2 separate regions of the Homo sapiens genome follow, and region 2 is linked to region 1. The links are contacts of gene promoters, found by promoter capture Hi-C in human tissues and cell types (Jung and others, 2019). All regions are on one chromosome and are shown on one strand. Each heading gives the region's core, a stretch centred on a gene start or on the middle of the fragment in contact. The rest is flanking DNA. Distances are from core to core; before and after follow the strand shown. Region 1 holds the start of TFAP2B (transcription factor AP-2 beta). Region 2 has its middle 150 kb from the start of TFAP2B.

Region 1 (6,590 bases), core at 2,546-5,045:
GCCTCCACTTTCCTGACCCCCCGCTAAGTGTTTTGAGACAATGATGATAAGTTAAATTGTTTATGAAGCAATAGTACCACATATATTTACCCACAGATACTATTTTAATAAATTTTCACAATCATTTCCATTTTGTAGTTCAGTGCACTGAACCTCAGGCTATTAAATAGCCTGCCCCACCGCCTAGAATGAGAAAGGCCAGGGTGCAAACTTGGCACAATAATTCTAATTCTTGACTTTTCTAATTTTATTATTTTTGTGCGTTGGGTAGATGGAAAGGGGAAACCCAGGGAGACTGTGTAATGGAAAAAGAAAAGGTGGTACAGTGGGCATCTGCAAAGGAAGATAGTTCATGGAGTGTTAACCCACAGGTGCAAAGGTGAGGGCTAGTGGAAGGAAGGAAGTCAAATAAATTTAGATAATTCATAATTAGATTTTTAGAAGAAAGATGAAAGAAGACATGAAAGTGCTCCTAGTTGACCTTGATTTAATAATGATATTTTTCTGTACATTTTTTAAAAAACAGTCCTGAACATACTTCGAAAATCACCAGCAGAGGGCTTCATGCTGGGTGCATTTGCTTTTAATTATAGACTCCGACATTTACTGAATAATATTCCCTCTATATGAGGCTGAAAAAAAAAGAGGGTATGAATAATTCTTTTCTTTGCTGTTTTAAACTGAAATAAATGCAAATGAAAGAGGAAAGTACGAGTGTTAACTATCTGGGATGTCTCAAGTGCGGTTCCACCTAGGAGAGCATGTGCGTAACCTGAAAAAGAAATATGGACATAAGGCAAGATAAAATAACGAGGAAAATGCATATTTTACTCGTTTAATTTCCTTCAAATCCAGAGTTTGTTTTGCCTTTGTGTTTCCATTTACTGAGTTCTTGCGGGAATAGTTTCCCTACGTCATGTGATTGAGTGATAACGCGAAAGGTAATAGAAAGTAAAAGCAAGAGAGGTAGGTTCAAGTTAGGAAAAATTTTCTCCGTAGCGGCTGAGCTTTTATTGTGCGTTTCTTCGGGCGTTTGAACTTTTTAGATGCTGGAACGATCGTTTCTAAAATTAGTAAATATCATAAGAAGTGAACTTTAAAAATGTTCCTCTCAATACCAGGTTTTCAAGAACGGAAAGAAACCTTTGCCGAAAAAGAAATCAAGGAGACTTGCAGGGTTTGCGTCTATAAAATTCCGACAGAGGGCGCTGTTGCCCGTTCAATGACAGGGAACGGTCCGTGGGAACGGTTTACCTTGCAATGTCTAGGACTTTTCGAATAACGCCCACGTTAAAAAAAATAACTAGGATTTTAATTATGGTTATGTATTTTGAAGGTATTTCTCTATATATATGTGTATATTTTTAGGTTTATGCTTCATTCTTAATAAAACCAGATTTGTTATTTTTCAGGTTTCCTAAAGAACTTAAATTTTAACCAAATATCTCAAGATATTTCCACTTTAAAAAATACCTAATACTAGCATAAAATAAAATTACACATAAAAAGTTTGAAATTATTCATATATAAGGCTATAAAATAGTTATACTAACACAATACCTTATATTATTTTAATTTATGTGTAAAATTATCTCTTGCAGGTTTTGTTTTGTTAAATCTCAGAGTTTATTTATTTTAGACTAGGCAATAATATACCAAAAAGATATTAAAAGGTGTTAAAAGCATTTAGAGAAAAAAAGTGAGATTTTTCCAAATGCATTTTATTTGGGTTGTAATGATCTTTAGGTAATAACAATGACAGAATTATTGATTTGAAAGGGAGAAAACAATTATTTCCATTAATTAAATGTCTTGTGCCTGGAGAATCTGAACTTCCAAGTCTATAATATTTATCTTTCAGATTATTGATCTGGCACTGATTTTAGTTCTAGAAGTCAGGGGGTGTGGAACCCGTTTCAAGTCCCACCACACAATAAGATTAAGAAAAATCCCTTCTCATCTCCTAACTAGCTCTGGAAGCAAAGAAGAAAATCTTTGCTGATGCTCCTAGTGAAAAATCTGTATAGATTGTGTATGATTTAAGGTTAACATTTAAAGGGGAAGAAAGGAATGGAGAGAGAAAGGAAGGAACGAAAAGGGAAATGAAGGAAAGAAAAAAGGAAAACAAAAAGGAGGAAGAGGAGAAAAGGAAAGACGAAACATAAAAAATTCAACCGGAAATAAGGGGTTTATTTCTGAAGTTCCTTCTGAAGCACCTTCTTTGTGTTCTTTTCCTTTGACTTATCTTTAAAAATTAAATTAAAAATCTGCAGAATTGTTTATTCTGCAGTTCATGAAGCTTCTCCTTGGTTTTGATTGAATCGACGTCCAACAAGGTTGTCCGGAGCCCTGTACTCAAACAGCGTCCATCCCTGTTCGCGCAGAGCTGCACACAGCAGTCCTGGATTTAAAGACAATCACCCTTTGCAGATTCACTCTCACCAGGCTTAATAACTTCCACCCCAAATTGCCCCATCCCTCCTCGGTCCCTCCTGGCATTTCTTTTCTGTCCCAGGCGCAGAGATCCTCTTCTGGGCGTCTGTTCCGGCTATGAGAAGCTCTCCGCACCCTGAAAGGGAGTAGAAAAACAGAGGGGATGGGAAAGGGGGAACAGGGGAACAGATGAGTATTCATTTCATGATAAAATTCAGAATCCCTGCGCCTTAAATGGTGCCCATTTTCTAAGTCTGGTTAATATTGTTCTTGTTGCTGATGATGTTTTCCTTTTTAAAAACTATATGAATCATCTTATTAAGAAAAATTATACAAAAAAAAGAAGAAACTCCACATGCACTAAAATATTTTTCACTATCTCTTTGAAGACATTCTGCTTAAACCTTTTCAAAGATTCGGGTGGCCCTTTCTTGACTCTCCATGATTAAAACCACTTACAAGTCATACACAACAGATGCAAATATAAAATGTCCTTGGCCTCTGCAAAAAAGGCTCAAAATTAACCTTGTCTGAACGTGTGCGTACGTTGCTTCCAACATCTGAAAAAAACTTGATAAAATGGAGACTCCAGCCAAGAGGAATGGTGCATGGAATCCGTTGAAAATGCATACAAACAACACCTAAAATAACAAGCAGCACAAACTGAGGTGTATTTAAGTTTCCAAAGGTTTTAGGTAAAATGACCAGAAAATATTAGAAATGGTCATCAACGGTGGCTAGCTTTTTTGTTCTATGGTGACAGAGATAAAGTTAAAAAAAAAAAAGTTGTGTAGCCATCAACACAGAGATAGTCCTTAAAATCCCCCATATCCAGCCTTTCAAAATACTCTCTTCCGGAACATACATGAATAGGAGGGAGCTTTTGTGTTTAAAAATCTTGGTAAGTGTCCCCCTTTAAAATCTACATAGAAAATAGGGGACTGATGGCCCCTGGTTTCTCATTATGAATTGCAAAGACTTCAGTTAGTGGCTACAATGATGTGTCATTTTCGATATAGAAGTTATAAAATGTATATATTATATTAATCACCCTGAACAACTCTTTGTTAAATGCACATTTGGAGTCTGCAGACTGTGTGACCCAGAGGTGCTTATATAACTATATGTGGGTGTCTGGGTGTAAATACGGGTTTATGATTTTTATAGTATATATGTCTGTGGGTTGCATCTAACTCCTGTGTGTGCAATAATGTTTTTTCTCTTTGCTGAGGCTTACTTGTCCAGCCTATTGTTTGAGACAACAGATATAAGTTGCGATGGGAGAGGAGCGTCGGATTTGGTGTGTATCCCCCATTTCCAATTATAGATGGATCATTACAGACAGCGGAGTCCTGAGAAGCCAGACATCTGCTCCTCACATGAATGCACTCACCTCCTAGAGACCAGGCTGCCATCATGCTCTGGAAGCTTGTGGAGAATGTCAAGTACGAAGATATCTATGAGGTGAGTCGACACCCCCAGATGCACCTTAGAGCTTTGCAGATAGAGAATTTGAGCTTCTTGATACCCCAAATGATATATATTTTTAAGCTATTTACTCGTAGATTTCCGGTCGGTTTTCTCAGCTTTTTTTAACTTTTAGAAAAGCTGGCTAGGGAAGACTTCGCTGCTCTGAAAAGGGACTTTAAGGCTGAAATCTGACAACTTTAATTTAGGAATGTTTTTATTTATTTTATTTTTCTTTCCCTTTTCCTCGCCTCCCCCCACCCCACCCCACCCTTTTAAGCTCTGATGGGGAATGTGGTGCTACTGAATGTGGGCACGCTCTCAGAGAAAATCGAGATTCTGATAAAGTCAGGGGCTTTTCTCGTTTTAAGTGTGGAAGAGAATTGGGTTTTCAAGCCTCATTTGTAACAGACTCGGGCTTTTAATTTTTATTTTCAATAAAATTTCTGAAATTGATAACAAATGGTTCCAAGTAGAGGACAGAGAATTAGCGGGAAAGAAGTAGATGGCTGGAGATATGGATGGATAGAGCAAAATAGAAGTCGTAGCAGTTTATTAGTTTCTGTTTTCTTGTGTTTTGCTTCCTTGAGGGTCACTGCGTCCGAACAGAAATCGCAGCCGCCTCCTGTGTGGGCATCTTTCACGGAAATTTCTGCCCACGTTCAATGCGTACGGGTCTCTAGCACTGAGGCTAGCTCAACTCTTCGGGGCAGGAGAAGTTGCGCCCAGCCAGGAGGACGCCAGCCGCCTCCGGGGCCCGGACCGCGCTCGCCAAAGCCCTTTTCCGGCTCGGGCGAGGGCTGACGCGGCCAGACGGCTCCGCTACTCGCGGGCGAGGCGGACTAGGCGGACGAGGCGGCCGAGGCGGGCGAGGTGGGAGAGGCGGGCGAGGTGGGAGAGGCGGCCGAGGCGGGCGAGGCGCGGGGCGCGCGGCGGGCCAGGCTGGGGACCGGGAAGCCCGCGGAGCCTCGCTTTTAAGCGGAATGGTCTGGGACAGCCCCAGGTGGTTGCCAGGGGAAGGGAGGAAGGGAAGGTTCTGCTGAGACGTCGAGGTTGGAAATAAAAACTTCGGAAAGGCGAAGCGGATTTAGAAAAGGAGGGAAGTCGAGGCGGGCGAAGCGGGCCATGGAGATTGCTAAGAGGAAAAGTTGGAGAGAAAAGGAAGGAAGAGAAGCAGACTCCCGGGTGGCGGGCGCGGGCCGCTAGGTCAGACGAAAGGTGGAGGGATGCAGAGGCTCCCCAAAGAGCCGAGAAAGACACGCGACCCCTCCGGATCGGGACAGCTCCTGAAAGCCCGGCGCAGAGCCGCCTCGAAGATCCTAAGAGTGGGCGACTCACAGGCGCGGCCGGCAAGCTCCTGGGGGACTCGGGCTCGGACGAGCGCCCACAGGCAGCGCCTGGCGCCCACACCTCCTGCCCCCCCCCGAATCCTAATGTTGGGGTGTGTGTATGTGTGGAGGTATGTAGGAGAGAGGAGGAGGAGATAAGAGAGGAGAGGGAGAAAAGCAGGAGAGAGCGCGAGAGAGCAGAGAGGAGAGAGATTGGTCTTGTTGCTGAATGATGCTTGGGGTTTTCCTTTTCTCTTTGTGGTTGTGTATCGACTGTAACGAAGAGCCGCGCCTACGCGCCTGGTGGGGATTGTTTCGGTTCGGCCTCCTTTTCTTTCCTTAACAGGCGGGATAATGGTAAAGTCCAAGGCGCTAGAACTGTCCTAAAGAATATTAGCGCCCAAAGTGGGCATGACATTAGCAAGCACGGGGCCATGGTGAAAACAGCTCAAGCTATATGCATGCAGAGGCATTTCAGTGGGTTCTAAAAAGTAACCAGGGTAACATTCGTTCTTTACAGAAAGTAAAGTAGCTAAATGGAAAAGGAAGGAGGGAGAGAAGAAAGGAGGGAGGGAGAGAGGAAGAGGGAGGGGTGGAGTGGAAGGGAGGGAAGAGAGAAGAGAAAAGAGGGGAGGGAGAGAGAGAAAGAGAAATAAACAGGGAGAGAGAGGGAATATTACAGGTGGTCCTATCTGCCTAAATTTTCTGCTCAAAAAACAGAATCCGCAGCTCGGTGGAAGGAGCCTATTTAAGTCTGGACTAAGGTTGAACTTTAACAGAAATGGCAGTCAGGCCAGTTGAACGGGTTCCTGAAACATCCAAAAAGGTTTTCTGTTGCCCCTGGCTTTGCCTGGAAAGGATAAGTTTAGTGTATTTGAAGATTGATGGCGTATGTTTTAAATTGAGGTAAAAATCGCAAACTATGTGAGCACTAAACAGGAAAAGGCTGCACAGGAATGAAAAGCCTCCATCTCGCTTCTGTCCTTTAACAAATGAGCATAATCTTCCACATTTAGCAAAAGTCTGCAAAAGTCACTGTAAATAACCAGGCCCACCAATTTGCCTTTCTCTCGCCTCCAAATGATGAAGCAACCCTTTTTATTTTGTTTTTGTAATCCTCACACAAAGCACCCAAGGCGACCAAGTCCTCCGGATTAGGGAAGTCTCTCTCCAGGTAGGAGGACACCTCCATTCTATACAACCTCCCAGCACTGTTCTCCCTCACTGCCTTATCCAAAGGAGCAGGGGCTGCTTTACTCGTGTCCCCGGCACAGTTAATTGAAGTTCTGCCTCTTTCCTGCTAAACTTTTTCCCCAGTCTGCCTTTGCCAGCCCCCTCGTCTGATTACATCTAGTAATTCTC
Region 2 (6,590 bases), core at 1,111-3,610, 150 kb after region 1:
GCAAGTTGTAGAATGGTAGATACAGTGTGACAACATTTGTAATAATTTAAAACAAATACTGAATAATACCTATTATTGCTAGAGGATTAGCAGTGGGCATTAGGACACAATGGACTTGAGGATGATATGTAAACCTTTTTTTTTTTCTTTTTAAAGAAGCAATTAAGTCAAATGCTAACAATAATTGTACTGGTTATGTTATCATGTACTTTCTATTTGTTTTTAAGTTACCCCTCTTCTCCCAAATCTTTAAATACTATTTAACTGTGTTCATGGCATTTTATTAAGTGATTTCTTCATCAACATTTATATCTTCTCATTAGTCCCTGAAAGTGTGTCTGTGCTTAAATGAAAAGTTCAAGGGGAAGAGAAATGATGGTTGCTTTTCTGGCATGGTTTATATATGGAATATATTTAATCTAGTTTATACCTTCTCTTCTACTCATTATTTTATTCCTATAAAAAGTGAAGGAAAGCTAGAACTCTGGGTGGTATCATCATTTATTTTTTCAACTATCTCATCTCTTTTCTCTGCTCAGCAACAAATCTCCAACATAAATTATTCTTTCACTGCCAATTTGGAAAACACATCAAACTTCCTCCTTTCCAGGCTTGGATGCCTGCAAATCAACCTTTTGAATCAATGTCAGTTGAATTACTAATTAGGGATTCCTCTGCTATCTACCAGGATGCTGAGCATTGATCTTCTCTCAAAGGGTCCTGCTGCTTCCCTCCCTTCATGGAAATGGCAAGTATCCAAGATTACTTGTTTTTCCTCCTCTTTCTTCTTCAATTCCTAACCTGGAAGGACACAATAATATCTAAAAAGCCAGCTGCAGAGGTGTGCACCTGTAGTCCTAGCTACTCAGGAGGTTGAGGCGGGAGGATCACCTGAGCTCAGGAGTTGAAGTGCAGCCTGGGCAACATCCCCACCTTGAAAGAAAAATTGGAACGTGGGAGGAAGGAAGGAAGGAAGGAGGGAAGGAGAGAAGGAAGGAAGGAAGGAAGGAAGGAAGGAAGGAAGGAAGGAAAGTATCTACTATTTCCCTTGCTCTTTAAATCTTCCCAGTATTTTCTTTCTTTTCTCTCTTCTTTGGCACTGCTCTGACTTGTTCCTTTAATGCTCTTCTGTGGGCATTCATTTTGTAGCTTAGAGTTGACATTATTTAGCAGATGGGAAGGAGAAGTTGGGAGCTGGGGGATGGAGATATGGACTGCACATATTTTGGAATTAGCACAATATCACTCCTAGTCTTTCATTTTCCCAGTAGGGTATGATATTTCTTGGGTTCACAACTTTTTTCTCCTTGCCTGCTAGTGGTGCTGCAACATTTCTCTGGTGACTTGTCACAGATGAAAGCTTTTTTGCCTTTCAACAATGGTAAAAGTGTGACAGGCACAGGTGATAATCCTCATTTTATAGGTTATGAAGTGGAAATGAAGAGACCTTGATACTAGCCTGTGATACAGCTGTGATTATGGCTTGGGCCTCTGGTTGCCTAGCTTCAGCCTCTTTTTTCTTCACTTTTTGTCCTAAGTAAGAAATCTTTGCAGTCTTTGTTGGATTCTACTTCATTCAACTCTAAATGCTAGGATGTTTTCCCCAGCTGTACTCACTTTCTTGTTAATCTCATTCAGCTCCATTTAAAATGCCAACTATATACTATTGACTCCTAAATATATCTTTTGATATGACCTCTCCCCTGAACTCCAGTTTCATTTATCTTACTTATTTGACATCCGTCAGGATATTTAATAGGCATCTCAAACCTAGCTTGTCCAAACTTGATTCCCCTCCACCCTCAAACCAACTACTTCCTGAGCTTTCTCAATGTGACAATATTATTCACACAGCTGGCTTTTGTTAAAAAACAACTTGGAGTCAATATTGATTCTTATTTTTCTTTCATACCATTATTCAAACCATCAGCTGATCATGTGTGCCCCACTTTCAAAATATATCCCAAATCTGACCACATCTCACCATTGCCATCCTATTAAAGCTACTCATATATCATCTGATCTGGGAAGATTACTAACTGGTTTTACTTGCTATAATCTATTTTCCATGCAGCTGTCAGGGTCCTTGTAAAACATAACTCAGATCATGACATTCCTTTGCTCAAAATTTTCTAATGTCTTCTCAGCATATTTTTAGGTATTCCAAACTCCTTACTATGGCATCTGATGACCTACATGATGGGCCACTGGCCAATTCTCTAATTATATCTCCTGATTTCTCTCCCTCACTCAGTCTGCTCCAGGCACACTGACCTGCTTTCCCTTGGGTTGCCAAACACACTTGGCTTCAGTCTTTCCTATTGCTGATCTTTTGCCTGGAAATATCCCAGGATAATTGCCCTACTCCCATCTTCACTTCTTTCAGATATCTGCAAGTATCACCTCCTCAAGGACAATCAACCACACTAACTACAAACCATAGCCCTATCCCTCACTATCTCCTTTCCTGCTTTCTCTTCACAGCAGTTACCACACCCTGACTTTATATATCTCTTAATATATTTATCTTTTTCTATTTCTCCTTCTAGAATATTAGCTCTGTGAGGGAGGGACTTTAACACTCTTCTTCACTGCTGTGTCCCCAGTGTCTAGAACTGCTCCTAAGTTATAAGAACAGATTCAGATGGACTCACTAAACATTTGTTGACTCGATGACTACTGGAGGATACTTCAGGCTGGGCTATTGAGATGGGCCCAGATCAGAAGAAATCCTCTGACAAGGAGCCATCACACACTGAGCCTTATTGTGGTCAAATTCATGCTATCTATCTGCACTATACAAACACACTTGTTTTGAGGACAGGCCTCGTTTCTACAGTCTGACTTATCTTAGCTTTTAATATTATTTTGTTTCTATAAATACACTCATATTTCTCATACTACATATTTATTGGTTGCATACCAGAAACCAGTCTCTATATAATTTTTTTTATTTTAATAGGTTTTTGGGGAGCAGGTGGTTTTGGGTTACATGGATAAGTTCACTCGTGGTGATTTCTGAGATTTTGGTGCACCCATCACCATCACCCGAGCAGTGTACACTGTATCTAATGTGTATTCTTATTCCTCACTCCACTCCCACCTTTTCCCCTAAGTTCCCAAAGTCCATTGTATCATTTGTGTCAGGCTCTATACTTCTCTATTCTTTACCTATTTTAATCCTCACAAGAACATAAGGGTCCTATTGAGCTTAAGTATTTTGCCCAAAGCTGGTCAGTGGTGAAGTCAGAATTTTAAACATGGAAGCCTGACAAGAAGGCCAAACTCTTAACCACCATCGCTCTGCTTTGTATTCTCATACTGCTCCTGGTGTCTCCGTTTTTGGCTGAGAAGATATGAATATCATGGCGAAGCATCAGTGCAGCAATGCTCCCAGAGCTTTCACACACCGTTACATATTTACTGAGGTGTGTGATGGAATGGCATTTTTCTTTTTAAGATTCAACAACCCATTAATTCTGCAACTTTAGGACAACCTGTCCCATGTGCTGCCCAACAAATATTCTTTCTCCTTATGATCATTGGACAATAAAGAGACCATGTTCTGGTAATTTCTCCACACCTTGTCCTGCCCTCCTCCTCCTAAGAACTGATTGTTTCCTACATTCTGCAGGCTGCTCAGTCAACCTGGTCACTGTGATATCCTCAGTGCTAAGGACACTGGAAGCGGGAGTCAGGTTTGCACAGTTAGATTGATAAGCAGATGCTAAGCCGATGTGGCACAGCTGCTACTGCTGAGCCAGGAAAAGCAGGTCAAGGTTATTAGGAGAAAGTGTGGCACTTGTCCATAGCTGGAAGCAAAAATATTCCCATGTACTGTTCCCTTTCCCAGTCTCTCTCTTCAGATCCCTTCTTGTTCTCTCTTTGTATTTCTTTCCGTCTTCTCTTTTATAGAGTATTATGGCCAAAGAGACATATATTGAAATAGCTGGACTTCTCTAAACAAAGGACATCCATAAAACAATAACTTTGTTTTTCTAACATTATGGGTATTACTTGATCTACCAAGTAGTACCATGCTTTAAAAATAAGTCAAAGATTAACAGTGACCATTTGCCATTTATTATTTCATTCTATTTCTTTATTTCTAAGACATGGTTTCACATATGAAATATACAGAACATTTTGTACTAATGCATCAGAAATGCATGGCACATTAGCATACATGCAATGCAACCAGGCAGTCTGGTTTGTGGTTTCCATTTTTCATTGAATTGAATTTATTGGTGTCTAAATTTGATTTTTCATCCAGAAGAACCTGTTTCCCCTAAGGTCTTTTTAGTTGTTTCTATGTAATTTTGAACTGAATATCATTTAATTAGGTGAAAATGACCACATGAAATAAACCAACCCTAAAACCAAAGGCATTTAAAAATTATCATCTTTAGATTGACTGCATCAGTATCTACCAGTAGAACTTGAAGCCTTATCAGGCAGACTACCAGATAGTACATGTGCCCTGCCCCTGTTTGGGAATTCTCTGACTGTTACAAGTAGTGTGGCACCTCCCAGAAAGCTCACTTCCCTTCTAGACCTCCCCGCCCCCACCACTCATTATGCCAATCCCCAGCCTGGGACCAGGCCTTATCCTCTGACTGGAAATCTTTGGGCTCACCAAAAATTTGGAGACGTCTGCTTCAATTATATTTTATACATAATTTTGCCTTTACAGTCCCTTCAGAATATGTCGTGTGGAACATATGAAGAGCACTGAGCTGGAAGTCTGGGTTTATATTTGAGCCCTGGCACTTATTAGCTGTATAAGTACAGGAAATTGCACATCTCTCTGAGCTTCAATTCCTTGTTTATCTGAATAAGAAGGGAGTGATAAAAGAAAAAAAATCTGTGAAGTATCTAGCATAATATAGTAATACCTGCAATAAACAATAGCAATTCTTATAATACTGTTACTGTTTCCCTGAACTAGCTTTTGTACTCCTGGTAATAAAGCACCTCAAGGCAGAGAATGGTAAGTGGAGAAGAAATTAAAATGACTTTTCACCAAATTTTGCTTGTAAAATGTCTGAAATTTAAGCAAACAGACAGCAAACTTACTTATACTCAGGACAAGTAACTAGGTCATGGAGAAGAAATGCCAGATCTTACAAATGTAAAAAGTAAACACAGGATTTAACAGTATGTTTCTAGGTCATATGCATAAGTGGGAATAAAAGTAATGCCTGCTGCATTGTGTTGTTATGAGAACAGAATGGTTTAATCCATATAAAGCACTTAAAAGATGTAGGGAAAAAAAACCCAAATTAGATATTGACATCATTGAATAAAAGACTTGACTTTTAGTCTTGGTGGCATGCCAGTGATTATGGGGAAGTCTCTTTCGTTTGAAATACTGCAAGTCTGATTGTGGTATTTCTTGAGATTTTGAGAATGTCTAAATAGAATCCCATTAGCTCCTTGAGGCATTTATCTCTATATCTTACCTCTTGGTACAGTATTTGGCACAGACTCAGTATTTAGCGAATGCTTATTGAATGAGTGGATGAGCAAATAGAAAAGCTACCTGTCTTGTCTAATTCTAAAGGTCATTTGGTTAAGACCATAGCATTTTGATGCAAATTGCAATTTCTTTATTTTTCTTCTCACTTTGCCCACCCACCCTATCCCACCAGGTACACAACTGTGCAACCTCTCTACCTCTTCTCACTCTAGAAAGCATTTACCTGGAAGCAGTCTGGAGCCACAAACTCTAGAGCCCACAAGATCCACACAGGGAGTACGAGTGAGTGGAATGGTCCAGGGGATGGTGGATGAGTCCTCCCAGAAAGCAATATCAGGAGAGCAGCAGCCTCACCTGTGTTTCAATTGTGTCTTTACTCAGCAACTAGAACAGTGCCATCTACATAGTCCATCATAAATAAATACTGGTTGAATGAATGAATGAATAAATAAATACTCAAAATTAACTGTTGCATGGCAAGGATGAGGACCAAATGCTGTCCAACTCTTAGATTTCTTAAGAAATCTAAGAGAGTTTGTACTTTTATGTGAATTGTCTTGCTTTCAAAAGTTGACAACAAAGGAAAAATGTAAAGACACTGGGCAGGTCAAACAAAAACATATCTAAGGGGAAAATTCCACTCCTAAGCTCCAATTAGAAACCTCTGCTCTTCGTAATAGCTTATGTAATATTTTCCCATTTGCCCTGTAGGATCACTTTTGTTATTACACTTTTTTTTTCATATGTGCTGTATAGTATAAATAGTATTGTGCCCATTTTATGGATGAAATCATTGAAGTTCTGAGAATTTAATTGCCTTGTTTAAGGTCACAACACTGGTATGTAATGAAACTGGGACTAGGATTTGTTTTCTGACCTCAAATCCTGTGTGCATTCCCGGGCACCATTCTGATTATTTTTCCTCACGTCCTTTGGCAGTAGAAGGTAAATCACAAACCATTTACTTGTTGTTACTTCACCCACTTGAATTTCTATTGTTAGGACTGTCCAGCACTTTCTCACTGTTTCTTCTCCCCATCTTCCAGGCAATCTAGTTCAAACAAGTAAGTGTGCAATGCAGCATTAGAATTGGAATTAAAATAAAGTTGTT

Evidence for each region. The method cuts DNA at HindIII sites, captures the fragments that hold promoters and counts their contacts. A contact is called where the count stands out against the background at its distance.
Region 2: a fragment that was not itself captured here is called in contact with the fragment with the promoter of TFAP2B in region 1 in 1 of the 25 tissues and cell types used here (mesenchymal stem cells).

Annotation. Positions count from the first base shown.
Region 1 is chr6:50,815,076-50,821,665 of GRCh38, forward strand. TFAP2B (transcription factor AP-2 beta) reads left to right here and starts at 3,796. Exons shown (of 7, transcript NM_003221.4): 1 at 3,796-3,897. The coding sequence starts at 3,817. It overlaps LOC124901490 (a long non-coding RNA gene), which reads right to left and starts at 3,951. Exons shown (of 2, transcript XR_007059923.1): 1 at 3,827-3,951; 2 at 2,170-2,569. The HindIII fragment of the contact is 7,987 bases long and covers 935-6,590 here.
Region 2 is chr6:50,969,970-50,976,559 of GRCh38, forward strand. No RefSeq gene overlaps it. Among named protein-coding and RNA genes, the nearest start is that of TFAP2B, 150 kb to the left of the region's middle. The HindIII fragment of the contact is 3,610 bases long and covers 556-4,165 here.